Regions from separate parts of the Homo sapiens genome. Here all the other regions are linked to region 3. Evidence: promoter capture Hi-C in human tissues and cell types (Jung and others, 2019). All regions are on one chromosome and are shown on one strand. Each heading gives the region's core, a stretch centred on a gene start or on the middle of the fragment in contact. The rest is flanking DNA. Distances are from core to core; before and after follow the strand shown. Region 1 overlaps RNLS (renalase, FAD dependent amine oxidase). Region 2 overlaps LIPJ (lipase family member J). Region 3 holds the start of KLLN (killin, p53 regulated DNA replication inhibitor). Region 4 overlaps RNLS (renalase, FAD dependent amine oxidase).

What was found. The method cuts DNA at HindIII sites, captures the fragments that hold promoters and counts their contacts. A contact is called where the count stands out against the background at its distance.
Region 1: a fragment that was not itself captured here is called in contact with the fragment with the promoter of KLLN in region 3 in 1 of the 25 tissues and cell types used here (mesenchymal stem cells).
Region 2: a fragment that was not itself captured here is called in contact with the fragment with the promoter of KLLN in region 3 in 1 of the 25 tissues and cell types used here (lymphoblastoid cells).
Region 4: a fragment that was not itself captured here is called in contact with the fragment with the promoter of KLLN in region 3 in 1 of the 25 tissues and cell types used here (lymphoblastoid cells).

The regions. Positions count from the first base shown.
Region 1 is chr10:88,452,973-88,455,972 of GRCh38, forward strand. All of the region lies in intron 4 of RNLS (renalase, FAD dependent amine oxidase), which reads right to left. Among named protein-coding and RNA genes, the nearest start is that of RNLS, 130 kb to the right of the region's middle. The HindIII fragment of the contact is 6,199 bases long and covers 1-3,000 here.
Region 2 is chr10:88,596,694-88,599,897 of GRCh38, forward strand. It overlaps LIPJ (lipase family member J), which reads left to right. Exons shown (of 11, transcript NM_001010939.3): 8 at 97-243. Among named protein-coding and RNA genes, the nearest start is that of LIPJ, 12 kb to the left of the region's middle. RefSeq lists an enhancer at 1,665-1,804. The HindIII fragment of the contact is 3,756 bases long and covers 1-3,204 here.
Region 3 is chr10:87,862,271-87,865,305 of GRCh38, forward strand. KLLN (killin, p53 regulated DNA replication inhibitor) reads right to left here and starts at 1,263. Exons shown (of 1, transcript NM_001126049.2): 1 at 1-1,263. The coding sequence starts at 217. MLDHR (mitochondrial lactate dehydrogenase regulator) reads left to right here and starts at 1,289. Exons shown (of 1, transcript NM_001433720.1): 1 at 1,289-1,384. The coding sequence starts at 1,289. The coding sequence ends at 1,384. PTEN (phosphatase and tensin homolog) reads left to right here and starts at 1,355. Exons shown (of 9, transcript NM_000314.8): 1 at 1,355-2,278. The coding sequence starts at 2,200. RefSeq lists enhancers at 1-79, 330-509 and silencers at 1,110-1,419, 1,510-1,649. The HindIII fragment of the contact is 9,209 bases long and covers 1-3,035 here.
Region 4 is chr10:88,477,163-88,480,307 of GRCh38, forward strand. The region is part of intron 4 of RNLS (renalase, FAD dependent amine oxidase); the gene reads right to left. Among named protein-coding and RNA genes, the nearest start is that of RNLS, 100 kb to the right of the region's middle. The HindIII fragment of the contact is 3,732 bases long and covers 1-3,145 here.

The DNA.
Region 1 (3,000 bases), core at 394-2,893, 590 kb after region 3:
CACCTAAACAGGCAGAGGTGCTAGTTGATGGTGAGGGGAATTCTGAATGGTTGGATAGTGGAGGAGAAGGATAATGAGTATTTGTTAAGGCCATGAGACCAGCTGCAGTGGCAGGAGCTGTAGCTCATCTCACTAATCCACCTGAAGGCCTAGAACTTATTATAAGAAGCAAGCGGGTATGAATGGTTGCAAGGAGTACACCGTAGTGGATACCATGGAATACTGCCTAAATTTCTACCTCCAAAACTATAGTACTTACACCTCCAGCTGCAGGAAGTTTTAGAAACCAACAGCTCTTAGTGACATTCCCTCTAAGGGTCATATGTTCAGCTCAAGAAAACCGCCTTACCCAAAGTCATGCTCCTTCCCGGCGGTAGCCCACATCCAATGACTGGGTGATAGAAGGGTCTAAAGGCCTGTCCCTTTGCTTCCCATTTAGGGAACTTTAAGGAGTTATTGCAGCTGCAAAGGTCTCACTGGGATCATCAGAGACTTTGTTGTGATTGAATGGCAGTTCAAGCTCCCTTCAGCCCAATCCAGTTTCTTTCATTCTCCCATAGGTATCCAGCCAAGAGCATCCCCTCTTCCTGCATGCAAATCTTGTCCAGAGCCTGCTTTCTGGGAAACCTAACCTGTGACAAACATGCTATTTCTGAGTATCTGCAGATCATTCATGTGGAGAAATTTGCTCCTTATTTATGTGTTCTCTGCTGGTATTACTCCTTCTACTCTCGTAACAAAGCTGTTAACTAGCATTTTAGAATCACTGATGACATCCTTTCTTTCTAAGTTCTTCCTCTAAATTTCCTGGTTTGATCTGAGTTTTCTTATTTAGTGCTTTCAAAATATTCTTGAGTATTACCACTGCACTCTGTTTATATTACCTGTTTTTTAACAGCAGAGACTCTTTGTATTCTCACTGTTTACTATGACACAGTAACTTGTTGAATATTTGTGGAATTAAAAACAAACAAGAACATATTGATCTAGAATATGAATAGTGATCTGGTTGGCAATATCAATTTCACAGAGTTATTGGAATACAGACTAGAAACTATGGGAGTGGATGAGATTCCTGATGGATTATGGGTAGAATTAGAAGAGAAGATAGCTTATCACAGAACCCTGAGAAATACCAACACTTATGGGCTGAAAAGAGAAGAAAGAGTCCATGAAAGAATGGTTGGTGAGAGAAGAGATAATCCTGGAAGCCTAGGGTAGAAAGAAATTCAAGAAAGATGTATTCAACAGAGTCAAATAACAAATTGAGTATCAAATAAAACAAATGACTATCAGATTTGATAATTAGGAGGCCTTGGTGCCATTTTCCAGCCATATTTTGATGGCATTGTGGGAGGAAATATACAGGATCAATTTTGTATGTAGATCCACCTTTTCCCTTAGGTAGTTGCTGTATCCATGTCTGGAGAAGTCAGAGGAAGCATGGACTTCAGCTTCCTGTTTAAGCCATGTTCTCACATCCCATTTTAGCAGGGGCTTTGTTCTTTAGGAGTCCACAGGGTTCCATTAATAATGCTGTGATATCCACTTGGCTCTTTGTATCTGTTAGAATTTATAAATGGCAGGTAAATGATTATGACCTTCAAACCTCCAACAAGGTCAACTCCTTACTGAAAGTTATAAAGCCTAACCAACAATTACCCAGAGCTCAAATAAACCAGAGGTGCTTAAGTCACTCAGGGGAAACATATTAAAGTCAATTACAACTCAATCTGGGTAGATTTATCAGACATCTTTCCCCTGTGACCAAAGAGGCAAGAAGTAGAACTTGTTCCAAAGTGTGGGGATAAACGTAGGGGTGTATGGAGGTCTGGTAGATAACACAGAAGCAAGGAGAATAGATGATTCCTGCCTATTCCCCTAAGAGTTAGTTAAGCAAGTCTGGACATATTTCCTGAATTGGAACTATTTGATCTATATAAATACTCATTTTTATTCAATTCAACAGCTATTTATTGAATACTGTTATCTGTCAGGCAGATAACAGATATACTAGGAACTGAGAAACAAGATTGAAAGAATAAAAACAAGCATAAAAATAAACAACATATGTTCTGTTCTCAAGAAGTTCACAGACTAGTAGCTAGAGAAGCACACAAACTGCCATATAATTTCAAAGGCACTGTGAGAGTAGTATGTACTAAGTACTATGGAGCCACAGAGAAGTGGGCAATTCAGCCAGCCTTAGGAAGAAGGTATAACCAGGATGGCTACAGGTGTGGATGTATCTCTTGCAGGTTGATTGGAATGATGGACAATCAAAGTAAAGGGAAAAAAAAATCAATTGCTTTCTAGAAAATTTATAGAAATAAACGTTCCAAACCTACTAGGGCAACTAGTTCAGATATTTAAAAACCCATGCAAGCAAGGAATTCTTCCTGTAATTACCTCTAACTACATGGCCTTATAATTAATTTTTTTGTTTTGTTTTGAGACAGAGTCTTGCTCTGTTGCCCAGGCTGGAGTGCAGTGGTGCGATTTCGGCTCACTGCAAGCTCCACCTCCCGGGTTCACGCCATTCTCCTGCCTCAGCCTCCCGAGTAGCTGGGACTACAGGCACCCATCACCACACCCAGCTAATTTTTTGTATTTTTAGTAGAGACAGGGTTTCACCGTGTTAGCCAGGATGGTCTTGATCTCTTGATCTCGTGATCCGCCTGCCTCGACCTCCGAAAGTGCTGGAATTACAGGCGTGAGCCACCACGCCTGGCCTGTAATTAATTTTAAATCCTCCCTTTTCTCTTTTTCCTCATGAGAAAAAACTGGGAACAGATAGTCAACACAGTATTTACATTTCTGTTAGAAAAAACTCCCAGTGACTTGGTTATTTCCCACAAAACAAAACAAAACAAAACAAAAATCGCTTTATCCCAATGCATGCCCACTCATCATTTGATCTTTTTGTTTTAAAATGAATAGTAATCTACCTCCATTAAAAGCCTCCCAAGAGGACTTAGCTCCAGTGAGCATCGAACAGTT
Region 2 (3,204 bases), core at 358-2,857, 730 kb after region 3:
TAATTTATTTGGTTTTATAGATAGTGAATTACCACAACATTTCTTTAGCACTTATTGTGGTCATCCAAATGTGGATAAAATAAATTTATTTTACAGGCTTTTTCAGGCAACAAAGACTTCTTGCCTAAAACCTCATTTAAAAAATTCATTGGTTCAAAGCTGTGTCCACTACAGATTTTTGATAAGATTTGCCTCAATATCTTGTTTATGATGTTTGGATATGACCCAAAAAACTTAAATATGGTAAGAACAAGTTGTATTTGAAATATATATATTTTCCAATATTTGGAAAGTATAATAATAATAGTGCTTGTGTTATACCTTGTGTCATTTTGTGTTTCATCCACATACACTAGTAGTCAGATTCTTAGCCTATCTGATTTTATGACTACACCAACATTGTACAACTAACTTGCATGAACATGCTGGGATTATTTTACTTCCATATTTGTCTTGCTGTCTGTAAATATTCGAGAGCAGCTGATGTGATGGGTATCTTTATTGACCTTTGCTATTGGGTATTAGTTTCCTGAGACTTCTAAGATTTAGGTCCTCTTCTATTCATTTGTTTCCTGTAACTCCATAACTGCTCCTCCTGGTTCCTAATACTCCTTCCTATCCTTGTTGATCCTTCCATAATTAGAATTAGTGCCTTCCAATTATCTTTAAGTTTCTAGCTTTTATCAATACTCTTGGAGTGGGAAACTATTGTGGTACTCAAGGTACTATTACCAAAACCTTTGGATTGATTGTGTATAGGTTCTCTTAAGAATATAGGCATTCATTCTAAGTGTTTTTCATCACATTAAATTAAACATCCAGATTTGGCAGAAGCAAATGTGCCATTTGGACTAGAGGTTGGTTCTTGTACCTGGACCTTTTAAGAGCTTCTCAAAGAGAGCCAATATAGACATTCAAAGAAAGATAGGTATTCTCTTAATTCCCAAACACATTTTTATGCCACAAGGACATGTTTGTTGACTTTGTTGATTTTGTTCAACCTTACTTTATTTTTAGAATGCTATAAGAAACTCAGTTCTCGTCTTTTCCACCCATAAAGATATGAGAAGGCAGAAAGGATTACTTTCATATTCCCTCTTTTTCATATTTTTCTGTTCATCTAGTGCTAAGCACCTACTATGAGGGGCCTGGAAGAATCATAAATACAATGTTTATTTTTACTTATCCACTCATTCTATGTTTTAGGTAGTATATTTGGCCAATTCTATATTTTTTTGTAATTATAATGTGATGTCTCTGAGAACTCTTTTTTGTGTATAAATTATTAGAAAAGCTTACACTCTGGTTTTCTAGCCTCCAAAACTGTGGCATTTCTTCTGCAACAGAAGTTGACAGTGTTGTAGATTGTAATATGACTGTGTCTTAATTTAGCTGAAATTGTAGGAAGTTGGAAGTAGAAAATTTTCACGCACAGTGTGTTTGGAAATAGTTAATTGTGAAACTGTGGTTCAGCTTGAATCAGTCTCTTGAGCCTAGCAAGATCTGTGGAGGAAGTAGGGTCTGGCTTAAAATTATTTGCTTAGAGCCAGTATGAAAAACCAAAAGAGAATCTGGTAGTTTGTGAAAAGGCAGTGAGTGGAATCTGACTGATGTCACTCAGGTGTGGAAAACCAACCAGAGAATTGAAAGCAAGTCATGAGAACTGAAAGCAAGTCATGATGCAAGAAAAAACAGATGATAAAAATGCTCACAATGTGACTTGGAAAATGTATCATCAAACAACCAAAGTTTTGACCTTGTCCAGGTGTTACAATTTTTTGGTGATGATTTACAAAAAGAAATTCTAACTCTTATGAGGGGAAATGAGGCTGAGATATCTGAGTGCAGCTGTCAAGGGTGTGTGATTATTATTTAGGTCCCTTTCAGGGAATGGATTCCTTCTTATCTTTCTGATAAAGGTGAAGTAGAGACTCTGGTAAACATTTCATATTGCTCACAGATAGGCCTGACAGGTGTTTATGAAAGCTACTGTGCACTTCTTCATCCAGAAGGATGAACAGAACAGTGCGATTTGGGTTGTATAAGCCTCTGACCTACATTAAGGTAAACAGTAGTGACCCATGATGGAAGGAATATCTGGAGTGTACCAGAAAACTAAGCATTATATTGGAGCTTATTTCAAATACAGAGAAGAATTATAATTAGAGGACATAATAAATACCTGAGTTTTAATTTATACCTGAGTTTAAATTTATATAATTTAATTATATTTAATAATATAATATTTTATATTGTATTTAATAATATAATATATTATATTATTACAATAATATAAAATATTATATTATATTATAATAATATATTATATTAATTTAATATATAGAGGACATGATAAATACCTGAGAAGAATGTTTCTGTTAAAAATTTCTGTACAGGCTATTTAAAATTGTTCAGTCAGAACTTTATTTTTGACAGTTTCAAGTAGCCTGAATGGCAATGGAAACAAAAGAAATTTTCTCTCTTTTTATTGAGGTACAATTGACAAATAAATACATTGTGAAATAATTGCCACAATCAAGTTTAACACATCTATCACCTCACATAGTCATATTTTTGGTGATAATGCTTAAGATCTATTCTCTTAACAAATTTCAAGTATACAGTACAGTATTATTAGCTAGTCACCATCCTGTACATTAAATCCTCAAAATGTATTTACTATATAACTGAAAGTTTATACCCTTTGACCACCATGTCCCCATTTTTCCCACCTGCCAGACCCTGGCAACCACCATTTTACTCTGTTTCTATGAGCTCACTCTTTTATTTATTTATTTATTTAAGATTCTACGTAGGAGTGATACCATACAGTACTTGTCTTTCTCTATTTGGCTTATTTAACTTACTAGTACCCTCCAGGTTCATGTATGCTGTCACAAATGGCAGAATTTTTTCTTTTCTATGGTTGATTAATATTCCACAGTGTGTATGTATGTATATATATACACATACATTTATATATACATACATATATACACACACACACACACACACACATATATATATATACACATCTTCAATCTGATGAGTCAATTTTTATGGTTTTTTTTGTTCTTATTGTTCCTCAAAGATATTTTAAAGCTTGTCTTTTATGTCTTCAGTTATAGTATTAACAATATTTTCATTTGACAATCTTTGCCTTTTAATTGAATTACAGTATTTAGTAAATTTATTTTTATATAA
Region 3 (3,035 bases), core at 13-2,512:
GTTCCCCAACTAGGGACACACGTGACCTCCTTCGGAAAGTAGTTCCGACTGTGGCCCGTGTATCCTTCCACCTCCTTTTGAACCCTCCTAGGTCTCCTCGCCCCGCCCACTCGCTGGGCTGCAGCTTCCTACCGTTCCGTACTTTCCACTCAACCCGGTAACCCCAAACGTGCACGGTCCGGCCGGGGCGCGCGGAGCCTGGCCCCGGGCGATCCATCCTGCCGGGTTTTCACGGCGGCCAAGGGGGGGCGGGGCTAGGTGGTCTCTGAGAACCGAGCTTGACTCCGACGCCGCGAACCGACCTGGAGCCCGAGGGGAAAGATGCTCGACTCTCTTGGGGGCACCGGAGCGGGCGCAGGAGAGGCCTGCGGGGTGCGTCCCACTCACAGGGATCCTCTTTCAGTTCATTTAGATAGGTGCCCTTTGGGCCCTTGAAATTCAACGGCTATGTGTTCACGTTCAGCACGCTCGGCTGAGAGCTTTCATTTTTAGGGCAAACGAGCCGAGTTACCGGGGAAGCGAGAGGTGGGGCGCTGCAAGGGAGCCGGATGAGGTGATACACGCTGGCGACACAATAGCAGGTTGCTCTTTGTGCTAAGACTGACACCATGAGGACACAGATTTGGGGGAAGGGGGAATCTCTAGGCAAAGGCTGTTACAGTCAAATCTCTGCGAACGATTGTGATCCGACAGCGGTGCAAAAGGAAAGAGCGAATGCAGTCCACGCCGCGGAAATCTAGGGGTAGAGGCAAGGGGGGAGGGTATTCCCCTTGCAGGGACCGTCCCTGCATTTCCCTCTACACTGAGCAGCGTGGTCACCTGGTCCTTTTCACCTGTGCACAGGTAACCTCAGACTCGAGTCAGTGACACTGCTCAACGCACCCATCTCAGCTTTCATCATCAGTCCTCCACCCCCGCCCCACAACAGCCTACCCTGCCTCCGGCTGGGTTTCTGGGCAGAGGCCGAGGCTTAGCTCGTTATCCTCGCCTCGCGTTGCTGCAAAAGCCGCAGCAAGTGCAGCTGCAGGCTGGCGGCTGGGAACCGGCCCGAGCAAGCCCCAGGCAGCTACACTGGGCATGCTCAGTAGAGCCTGCGGCTTGGGGACTCTGCGCTCGCACCCAGAGCTACCGCTCTGCCCCCTCCTACCGCCCCCTGCCCTGCCCTGCCCTCCCCTCGCCCGGCGCGGTCCCGTCCGCCTCTCGCTCGCCTCCCGCCTCCCCTCGGTCTTCCGAGGCGCCCGGGCTCCCGGCGCGGCGGCGGAGGGGGCGGGCAGGCCGGCGGGCGGTGATGTGGCGGGACTCTTTATGCGCTGCGGCAGGATACGCGCTCGGCGCTGGGACGCGACTGCGCTCAGTTCTCTCCTCTCGGAAGCTGCAGCCATGATGGAAGTTTGAGAGTTGAGCCGCTGTGAGGCGAGGCCGGGCTCAGGCGAGGGAGATGAGAGACGGCGGCGGCCGCGGCCCGGAGCCCCTCTCAGCGCCTGTGAGCAGCCGCGGGGGCAGCGCCCTCGGGGAGCCGGCCGGCCTGCGGCGGCGGCAGCGGCGGCGTTTCTCGCCTCCTCTTCGTCTTTTCTAACCGTGCAGCCTCTTCCTCGGCTTCTCCTGAAAGGGAAGGTGGAAGCCGTGGGCTCGGGCGGGAGCCGGCTGAGGCGCGGCGGCGGCGGCGGCACCTCCCGCTCCTGGAGCGGGGGGGAGAAGCGGCGGCGGCGGCGGCCGCGGCGGCTGCAGCTCCAGGGAGGGGGTCTGAGTCGCCTGTCACCATTTCCAGGGCTGGGAACGCCGGAGAGTTGGTCTCTCCCCTTCTACTGCCTCCAACACGGCGGCGGCGGCGGCTGGCACATCCAGGGACCCGGGCCGGTTTTAAACCTCCCGTGCGCCGCCGCCGCACCCCCCGTGGCCCGGGCTCCGGAGGCCGCCGGCGGAGGCAGCCGTTCGGAGGATTATTCGTCTTCTCCCCATTCCGCTGCCGCCGCTGCCAGGCCTCTGGCTGCTGAGGAGAAGCAGGCCCAGTCGCTGCAACCATCCAGCAGCCGCCGCAGCAGCCATTACCCGGCTGCGGTCCAGAGCCAAGCGGCGGCAGAGCGAGGGGCATCAGCTACCGCCAAGTCCAGAGCCATTTCCATCCTGCAGAAGAAGCCCCGCCACCAGCAGCTTCTGCCATCTCTCTCCTCCTTTTTCTTCAGCCACAGGCTCCCAGACATGACAGCCATCATCAAAGAGATCGTTAGCAGAAACAAAAGGAGATATCAAGAGGATGGATTCGACTTAGACTTGACCTGTATCCATTTCTGCGGCTGCTCCTCTTTACCTTTCTGTCACTCTCTTAGAACGTGGGAGTAGACGGATGCGAAAATGTCCGTAGTTTGGGTGACTATAACATTTAACCCTGGTCAGGTTGCTAGGTCATATATTTTGTGTTTCCTTTCTGTGTATTCAACCTAGGGTGTGTTTGGCTAGACGGAACTCTTGCCTGGTTGCAAGTGTCAAGCCACCGATTGCTTTCTTAGGCTATCTATATGGTCTCTTCCTGAGGGCTATTGTCCGTTAATACAGAATACAGTACACTGTTAGTGGATTAGCGAGCTCGGTAATCCGGTCTCCTAAATGAACAAAAAAGTAGACGCTTTTTGAGGTTGAGCATATTTCGATTAAATCTTGGCTTAGGCCCTAGATCAAGGGTTTAGATCAGAATAAAATGAAAATTAGTGTTGCACGTACGCATATTGCATCAGAATCTTGCAGTGATTGTTTTAGTTTCCTGAGTTGCATTGATAGATTCTTTTAAAATATGACTGATTTGCATAACTTTAGAAGCAGAATCATTTTCAGTATATATGGTGCACATTGAGGGCAAAAAGTAGTTTTGTTAATGTTTAAACTTAAGTTACCTACAACTTTGAACTGTATGTAGAAGTTTTGTAGTTTGAAGTCAATAGTGCCATAATATACCTTATAAGGCGTTCTTACTAGATCTTTGTTATATTTACCTTTTTCTCTCCCTATGGGGTGATGTAGGATAGTGCTTGAAATTTGCA
Region 4 (3,145 bases), core at 188-2,687, 620 kb after region 3:
AAATGGTACAGTGTGACTAAGCTAACAATAACCATTCAAAGACTGTTCCATGTGTACATCTGCCCTATGGAGAAAGTGCAAAGTGCTGATATTCAGGACTTGCTCACAGAAAAACTGACGAAGGAACAACAAAGCAGGTGCCTTGATGGTATGAGCAAGATGATAAGGATGATGGTGAAGTTAGGGATGAAGGTGACAATGGGATGTCAGTTATGATGGTGATGACCGGGATGACAGGGAAGGAGAGAAAGATGGTGAAGACAGAGATAATGATGATGGGGATGACAGCGATGGTGGGGATGACAATGGGGAAGAGGATGATGGTGACAACAGCAACGCTGATGTAAACACTGACAATTGTGATGATGGTGAAGACAGGGATGATGGTGAAACAAGGATGGCAACGATGACAAGGATGATAGTGATGACAGGGATGACAGAAATTTGAAGACTGTGGAAGACAATAACAGTGGTATGTGACAGATAACACTGATCATCTTCTGTGTGCTTGACACTAGGCTAAAGGCTTCACATGCATCATCCCCCTTAATTTCCATGACCTTCCTATGAGGTGGGTGCTATCATGATCTTTGTTTCACATCTAAGAAGCTTCAGAATGATAGAGGGTAAGTATTTTGCCAAGTTCACACAGCTGTCCAGAGCAGGAGCTGATATGGCCCAAGTTCTGCCTGACTCTAGAGGACACACTGTTCATTACTAAGCTATGACACCAACTACTATGCAATACTAGCTGGAGGTTCACAGTATGTGTCTGTTGAATGCAATCATGCATGGAATCTTATGAGGCCATATGGCCCAGTGCCTATTTCAGATAGATTAACATTTATCCTGGATAGATTTTTATCTGGTAACTTCTTAAAAGTAAAGAATTATTAAAACTTAAGATTAGCTGTCTCAGGACCTACTGTGGATTGAAGTCAACTATCAACAAGGACTTTAAAATCCATTCCAAAATGGCTCTCATGTTATCTTTCAAACATTTAAAAAACATTTACTTTCTCCTACCTAAATGCATTCCTTGTCCCAGTTTCTTGGTGCCAGTTATTCTAATCTCCCAAGTTTCTTAGGCTTGAAAACGCGAGCCCATCTGACTCCCCACTTTCTCTTATTCCTTCTATCCAGTTAGTATCTGATATTTGGTAATATGTCTTCAACATTTCTGTCAGATTCATCATTTCATTTTTAGGCCCACTCCTAGCTTGCCAGTATTTTATCACCTCAGGGCCAATTGCTAATTTTAACCAGATGGCTGGGTTTCATTATGACACATGATCCCTCACTACCTATCATCTCAAGTTCAAATACCTCACTCTGTTATTAAAGATCCCTTTATATGTGGCCCTACCTTATCCCACATATACCTCTAGTCATCAAAGCATGCCTGGGCAGGTTGGTATACTTGAAGTCTCTCCACTGTCCCCCCAGATAAAAAATAAACCCACAAGACACAGGGCTTATCCATCCTCAACTGCCCTTTCCAGCTTCCGTTCACTCGAAATATGCTCTGCTCATTCCCATACAACTTATAATATACTCTGTACCATTTTCTGGCACACAAACCCATCACTTTAAGGATACTGAAGCTACTTGTTCAAACTGGTTCAAAATGACTTTTCCCTTTTCCTGACTTCACATAGCCTTAACTAATTTACCTTTTTTTCTTTTTCCTTCTTTCTTTCATTTCTTTCTTTCTCTTTCTTTCTTTCTTTCTCTTTCTTTCTTTCTCTCTCTCTCTCTTTCTGTCTGTCTCTCAAGCCATGCTGAGGAGCCCAAGTACCTGGGTTTGAATCCTAGTTCTGTCATTAACTAGGTACTATTTCTTCATCTGTAAGATGAGGATGATAGTAGCTACTTCATAGGGTTGTTGTGAAGACTAAATGAACATATAGTGATCAACAATCATTTGCTAAAACTATTATAGAACATTAAATATGTTTCAGTCTTGTTTCTTCTTTGTATATCCTAGCATGGCATCTGAAAACATATTAAGCATATAACAGGTATTCAACAACCTCTTGTTGCCTTTAATTATATCAGAGCGAAAAGTCAATGGCTTTGCTTTGAGGCCAATATTCCCTTACTTGGATCATGAAGCATCGTTACATAGAATTCCTATAATTTTAGGAAGACAAATAAACCTTGGCAGCTAGAGTGTTGCAAATCATTTTCATGTTTCCACCTGAAGCAGTAAGTAGGACACATTTTAATAGCACTGTTTTCATCTGAGGAAAATTATATACAGTTTTCTATTCTGAAAAATGGAGCTAATTTAAGTATTCACCACATAATATGATTATGAAGTTAAATAAGACAACCCATGTAAATGGTAAGCATTAGTCCTCTATAAATATTAGTGTCAATTTTAGAAATATCAGTATCATCATCATCATCATCATCATTGGATTTGTCTAAGCAAAGACGACCTTGAACTAGAAATAACAGCTGTTGATTCTTAGCCTAGTTTTAAAAATTATGCTGCCATCTCTTAGCCTTTCCCATTTTCAGAAAAGTAACCCAAATTCCTTTTATTTGCCCTTTTGAAGGACCTATTTTCCATTCATGACTTTTTCATATCAGCCATTCTTCTCTGGACTTTCTTTTCTTTTTTTCTTTTTTTTTTTTTTTAAGTTCCTACTTTCTAAAAGGTATAGTAGAAAAAAATCCAGATGCAACATATGAATACAAATTTACCAAAAGATCATAATAAAAAGATTCTTCCTTAAAACTTGTATGTCACACTCTTTTTAAATAAACTCTTGCATTGTATTAGTTCTCTGCACAAGCTCACATTCATCAAGTGTTTGCCTATTAGTTTGAGCTCTTTCTGTGAAACTTAAACTTACTCAGTCTTGGTCTATCATATTCTTAAATTACTGAGTTTTTGCATTGTACTTGGCTTGCCAGAACTTCATCTAATTTGCATAGGCCTATTTTCCTATTTAATAACATATTTTAAATTTTACTTCTACCTTTGAGACAATCTTAGAAATGTCACCTCATACAGGACCTTTAACTCTAGTAAGCATATTCCACGTTCCTTTACCTAGGTAATCAATTAAGTACAAGTTCTTAGACATAGCTTTAGGCTGAATTTGAGAGGTTCTTCAAAGTTGAAAACCTCTGA